Regions from separate parts of the Homo sapiens genome. Here region 1 is linked to region 2. Evidence: promoter capture Hi-C in human tissues and cell types (Jung and others, 2019). All regions are on one chromosome and are shown on one strand. Each heading gives the region's core, a stretch centred on a gene start or on the middle of the fragment in contact. The rest is flanking DNA. Distances are from core to core; before and after follow the strand shown.

Region 1 (3,210 bases), core at 146-2,645, 180 kb after region 2:
GAAAGAAAATAATTTCTTATCTTTCAAAGTTAAATAGAATGATGTTAGGATTGTTGAGACCAGACAAGTGGCAGCTGACAACCAGGAGACTGTGTGTTGTTATCATCGTTCTGCTTGTGACTCTGAGCAGCTCACTTAATCTCTCCGGACCTTGGTGTCTTCCCTGGTAAAGCACGTGTATGTACGCGGAGAAGGGGAAAACGATTGTGGAGGGGATTGACGGAAATGCTCCCTTAGGTCTCTTCTTACCCAGACATGCTTTGACTGGAACTCCTGAATCCCTCCCAGAGCATCTTAAAGGAAGCAGAATAATTTAATCATTAACATGTGGACCCCAGACTCAGTGTGTATCCATTTAGATGCTTTTGGTTACAACCAAAAGAAATCTAACTTCAGTTGGTTTAACCAAGAAAGGGAACTTACTGACTCATGTAACTAGAAAGTCTAGGAGTGGGTCAGGTTTCAGGTATGGTCTAATCTGTGGATTCTTAATGTCTTCACAAATGGGCCTCTATTTCTCTGTGATTCTTCTGGTTTTCCCATCCACCATGGGTATCTTCATCCTCAAGGTGGCAAAAGTGGCTGCTGTGGTTCAAGGCCACTTGACAGGTGACATCTGCACATCACACTAGTCCAACACAGGAAATAACTTTTCTCCCCTCAACCGTCATACCAAAGTCCCGGGTTTTACGCCTATTGGACCAACCTAATGCCATACGCGCACTTTTCATCCAAATACTGACCGGAGAATAAGAAGGACTGATTGGCTCCGGTTAATTAAGGCTCAACTCCGGAGGTTAAGGAGGGGTCAGCCCCACCCAAATCACAAGGCAAGGGACACTGGGAAGTTTGACATTCTCATGTTACAACCACATTGTCCATGATCGAATTCTGGCTCTGCTCGCCATATGTTATTGGGTAAATTGCCTTTGTCAAGCATCTGTTTCCTCATCTGTAAAATGAGATAATAATACGTATCTCAGAGGACTGTTGAAAGAATTAAATAAAATAATATGTGAAAAGCACTAAACATAGTTCCTGGCACAGAGTAAGTATGATGATGATGGTGGTGTTGGAGATGATGAAACTGAAGAGGGTTAGGGGAGCACTGGCACCAGTTTAGGAAGCAGCTGAGCCGTAGGAATGTTATCTAGTCAGGAGTGTGCATGCCTGTCATGCTGAAAGCATCTGTTTGATCTACTGCCCACATCATACTTTTCCCTACCTCTGCTTTTTTTCCTCTTAGGATTTTTTCTATAAGTGCTTTCTTCCTCCTCCCCTGCCTCTCAACTTCCTCATCTTTAAAGGCCCAGCATAAGTGCTACCCCATATTCAGTAGTTTAAAAGCTGGGTGTGGTGGCTCTTACCTGTAATCCCAGCTACTTGGGAGGCCTAGGCAGGTGTATTGTTTGAGCCCAGGAGTTTGAGACCAGCCTGGACAACATAGCAAGACCCTGTCTCTCAAAAAAATCAAACGGTTTTAAGAAAAAGCTTAGTTCAGTAACTTTGCATCTGTATAACTGAATCTCCCCCTGAGCAGGATCAGTAATGGTTAAGAACTTAGCTTCCGGATTAGGCAGAGATGGGTTTGCCACTGGGTAACTTGGGAAGGTTATTCAACCTCTTTATGCCTTAGTTTCCTCATCTGTAAAACAGGGTCTTTTGTTTGTTTGTTTGTTTTTTGAGACAGGGTCTCACTCTGTCACCCAGGCTGGAGTGCAGTGGTGCAATCTCGGCTCACTGCAACCTCTGCCTCCCAGGTTCAAGCGATTCTCTTGCCTCAGCTTCCTGAGTAGCTGGGACTATAGGTGCCTGCCACTGCACCCGGCTAATTTTTGTATTTTTAGTAGAGACGGGGTTTCGCCATGTTGGCCAGGCTGGTCTTGAACTCCTGACCTCAGGTGATCTGCCCGCCTCGACCTCCCAAAGTGCTTGGATTACAGGCGTGAGCCACCGTGCCTGGCCAAAACAAGGTCTTAATAGTACCTACCTCAGGCCAGGCGCGGTGGCTCACGCCTGTAATCCCAGCACTTTGGGAGGCCAAAGTGGGTAGATCACGAGGTCAGGAGATCAAGACCATCCTGGCCAACATGGCGAAACCCCGTCTCTACTAAAAATTAAACAAAAAATTAGCTGGGCATGGTGGCACGTGCCTGTAATCCCAGCTACTCAGGAGGCTGAGGCAGGAGAATCGCTTGAACCAGGGAGTCGGAGGTTGCAGCGAGCAAGATCATGCCACTGCACTCCAGCCTAGCAACAGAGCGAGACTCCGTCTCAAAAAAAAAAGTACCTACCTCAGAGAGTGGTTGAGACAATGAAATGATGCAATGTGTATAGTGTCTATAAAGAGGTCAGTACAGTGCTAACCGTAAATAATGGATCTTAGTGGTTACTATTAGCCTCAGGAGAGCAAGGTCTGTGTGACAGTCTCTGCAGCAGTAGCTGCTGGATAAACATACGTTAATGGGCTGTAAGGAGTATGGATGGCTCTCTTTCGTCTTCCAGCCATCTCCTCACCCTAGCAAAATAAAAAACAACCCCCAACCTTGGCAAAGGCAATGTAGCAAAGTAGTAGGTGCAAGATTTAATGAGCGACGGCAGGGAGGATGAGGTGCTAAGGAGGGGTGGACAGGGTAACAGATAACACATTTCAGCAACAGGAAGCCGAGAGGAAACCAGCAAGCGGCTGCTGTTCTGTGTTCCCCCATCCAGCCAGCAAGTTCAGCTCCGGCAAGTCATTTGATTCACCCGGTGATGAAATGGGGGTCAACCAGTCTGTGGGCTTTCCACCTGTCACAGGACCCCACCTCGTAGGCTGTGGGGATGTGATGGAGGGTCAGAATCTCCAGGTAAGTGTCCCCAGCTCCCTTTCTTCTGTTTGCACTGCTTCTGCCGGCACCGTGACTTACTGATCACAAGTCTGATCCTGTATTCCCACGGTGGGGAAAATGAATTAGAGCGGGTCTGGATTTGGTTATCAAGCCCCCAGGTCTGTCTTCCTGAGCTTTTTCTTCCTCTTTCCAAACATTAGAAACATCCCAATAGACAGAGATAATGCGTTCATTTTCCACCTAGGAGGAAAGGGGGGACTCTAGCTTTAGAGGCAGCTCGCAGATCCTCTCACCTTTCTTGAGGGCAGATGCCTGATCTTGGAAGGGTTTTAATCGTATCATAATCTGAGTGTGTGAGAGAAAGAGCCATGGGCGTGTG
Region 2 (2,987 bases), core at 1-2,500:
GGGTAGGTGACTCGGGAGGGGGGTGCAATCTCAGAAGCCTTCTTTTCTGGGGATCAGTCTCTGTCAGAAGCAGGACAGAGTAATCTGATCCCACTCCCGCCACCCCACACTGCATCAGGCCTCCATCTGGGTGCTCCAGTTCAGATGCTAGGACCTCAGAGGGAAGGCAGAGATAGACCAAGTGGGGAGTAGACACCCTAGGCCTGGTGTACAGAAAGTAGTAGAGAAGCCCTTCCAGGGCAGGAGTTTGAGACAGCGGCCTGGAAGTTAGAGTTGGAGGCAAGTTCTCTTTGTCCAGTTCCTTTATTTGGGGCAGGGCACCAAGAAGAGGCCCTCCGCTCCCCAAACCCAGAGGCAAAAGGGGTTGGCACGCTCCCTCCCAGCCTAGTCCTTGCGTCACTGTCCATGGGCAATTCCTCTGCCCTGCATCTTCAGGCCATGTCAGGTAGAGGTATCCATCTCAGGGACCTCAGTGGACACTTCCGTGGGCACTGCCAGCCGCCTGGGGGGCACATAGGATCCCATACCCGCTGCCCTCTCCGCCTCTTCCTGACTGTAGGGCTCGACGCTCAGCTGCTTCAGCCTGGGAGAAAGAAAAACAGGAGTTGGGAGCTGACCAGGTGAGAGCCCTATCTGCTGAGCACCCATCCATCAATCCTCTCCTTACTCCTTCATACCTTTTCTTGTGGTCTTTGGATCGGAAGTGGGTCTTCAGGTTGGTGGAATCGATGAAGTACCTCCTGTAGGAATGGAAGTGAGAAGGAGAGTGAGGAGGTGATAGTCTCCCAAGTGCACCTATCTCCCTAGCCCTAGCTTGTCCCTGACGCCAGGATCCGGGTCTGAGAAACGGGAGGCGGGCGGACCCACGGGTCCCAAGAGAGAAGACTCTGCGCTGCCTGGGGCTTCAACTTCACATCTCCCGGCCGGTACCGCGGACCCTCCTCCGCCCCAGGCCGGGCTCGTCCGGGACTCACGCGCAGGCCAGACAGCGGTGCAGACCGCCCCCTGGCAGGTCGGGGTCGAACTCGGCGTTTGGGTCGGGCTGGGGTCGTGCGGATCCCTGAGGCCGCAGCTCGCGGTGAATCTCATCCAAGTCCGGCCGCCGCCGCTTCGCCTTCATCTGCCGGGCTAGAGAGTGCGCTCGGTGCGCGCCTGTCCGGCGGGAGCGACCCATGGCCAGAAACAGCCCGGCCGGCCAAGGGGCCAGGAGCAGGGCAGGGAGCACACGTGTGAGCACTTCCGGGCCGATCAGCTACGTCAGGCCACGCCGGGGGGCTAGGCAGGCTCGGCCGGACCGCCTCTGATGACGTCACTCTCGGCCAGCGGCTCGAGCGCCGCCAGGCGGCCGTCGACGTCAGTGACCGAGCTCAGGACGGGCTCCCAGAAGTGTGCCCACTGAAGGGCATGGCCCCGCGGGCCCTCGCTGGGGAGGCGCGGGGTGGTGCGTGCGCCTGGGGGTTTCGGGGCCGTCTTGCTGCCCTGCTCTTCCTGGCCTGGTCCAACCAGTATCAGTGCCAACCTGTACTCCTGTCATCCCTTCCTGTTTCCCAGACCTTGGACTCCGCGGTGGGGGTGGGATGCTTTATCTCTGGAAAGCACTGATAAATGTCTGTGTCATGAATAAATTAGTAAATGACTGAGAGTGAATAAGTTTGGAATCCCAGCCCCACCAGGGCTTCCCGAGATAATCTCCAGTCCCTGAAAAAGCCCTCACTTCTCCGGGCTCCCGTTATTCCCTTGAGTCTCCATCCTCTCTCTGACCCCAACCAAATCCGTGAAGGGTGTTCCTCCCCAGAGAGTGCAGTCCTCAGGCATCCAGACTCCAGAGGGATCAGTTCCTCTCACAAGTACTCATAGAAGGACCTCTCCATCTTTGCCTCCTTTCTCTAAGCCCTGGGCTCCCAGAGGTGGGCTGGCAGCAAAGGCCTAGGTGTTGCATGCTCAGAGTGGCTAGAGGGCCTTTCCCCATTCACAGGAGCCTGGTGCCTCCCAGGCTGGCCAGAGCCAACTCAGCTGGAAGGGGCCAGAGGAGCTTAGCAATAATTCAGGGGCTCCAGCTCTTTGGAGTCTGTTGCCAGGAAACAAGGAGACAGGCACGTGTATCCCTGGGGAGAGGAATCAGTTTCCAGCCCAGACAAAGGAGTGAAATGTAAGCCCAAGGTGCCCACTGGGGGCCTGCGGACCTTCCTGCTCCAGTTCATTGAGGCTAAGTAGGGACACAGGGTGGAGCCCTGCTGAGGACACAACTAGTATGACTACAGTCACAGGGGCTCCAGTGTGGGTCCCAGACCTCAGGATTTTGTGAATGGAAGAAGATTTTCCTGGAGGCATGCTAAGAGATGAACAACTCAAGTACTCCTAGGCCCAGGAAGAAAGCCTCTCTAGAGACAAATGACTTCATTATTCTTGGCCAATATGGGTCAAGACAAGGGGCTAAGGTGGCAGAAGCTTGTTCCATCCCCCACTCCCCGACTCCTTTGGATCAGGTTCACCTCCTGGGCACTGTGCCAGCTGGGGAGGCTGGTGCATCTTTAATGAAGTCACTGGATCCCTCGGACAGGCTCTTGGCCTCACCAAGTTCCTAGAGCCAGACTCACTGGTATCCACTGAGCCACCACCTTCCTGTGCTTGCGTGCCAGGCCCCTTCCCCCTGCAGCCATGAACCAGGCCTTCTGGAAAACCTACAAGTCCAAAGTGCTACAGACCCTGAGTGGGGAATCTGAAGAAGACCTGGCAGAGGAGGTGGGTGCCATCCATGCATGGTGGGTGGAGCATGTGCAGAGGGGCAGCAGGAATGAGCAGTATGAAGTGGGGCACAGGATAGGCTTGGAGGTGGGGGGGCCACATTTGTGCAGATGCCACATTCAGGGATGGTAAAAACCATGGTGCAGCATCAGAAAGCCAGGACATTCAAGAAAACTGAGGAAGAAAAGACTTAGGGACCATGGGAGGAGTGGCCACTGTCTCCAAAGATCTCGAGGCTGCCA

The links. The method cuts DNA at HindIII sites, captures the fragments that hold promoters and counts their contacts. A contact is called where the count stands out against the background at its distance.
Region 1: a contact is called between a fragment that was not itself captured here and the fragment with the promoter of ZNF593 in region 2, in 1 of the 25 tissues and cell types used here (pancreas).

Annotation. Positions count from the first base shown.
Region 1 is chr1:25,990,366-25,993,575 of GRCh38, reverse strand. PAFAH2 (platelet activating factor acetylhydrolase 2) reads left to right here. Exons shown (of 11, transcript NM_000437.4): 2 at 2,713-2,849. The coding sequence starts at 2,760. Among named protein-coding and RNA genes, the nearest start is that of PAFAH2, 6.1 kb to the left of the region's middle. RefSeq lists an enhancer at 1-5. The HindIII fragment of the contact is 7,134 bases long and covers 1-3,210 here.
Region 2 is chr1:26,168,171-26,171,157 of GRCh38, reverse strand. It overlaps ZNF593 (zinc finger protein 593), which reads right to left and starts at 1,250. Exons shown (of 3, transcript NM_015871.5): 1 at 975-1,250; 2 at 678-740; 3 at 285-583. The coding sequence starts at 1,174. The coding sequence ends at 442. C1orf232 (chromosome 1 open reading frame 230) reads left to right here and starts at 2,195. Exons shown (of 4, transcript NM_001364669.2): 1 at 2,195-2,742. The coding sequence starts at 2,659. It overlaps ZNF593OS (ZNF593 opposite strand), which reads left to right. Exons shown (of 4, transcript NM_001395468.1): 3 at 1-2; 4 at 560-1,637. RefSeq lists an enhancer at 1,381-1,480 and a silencer at 2,714-2,869. The HindIII fragment of the contact is 4,053 bases long and covers 220-2,987 here.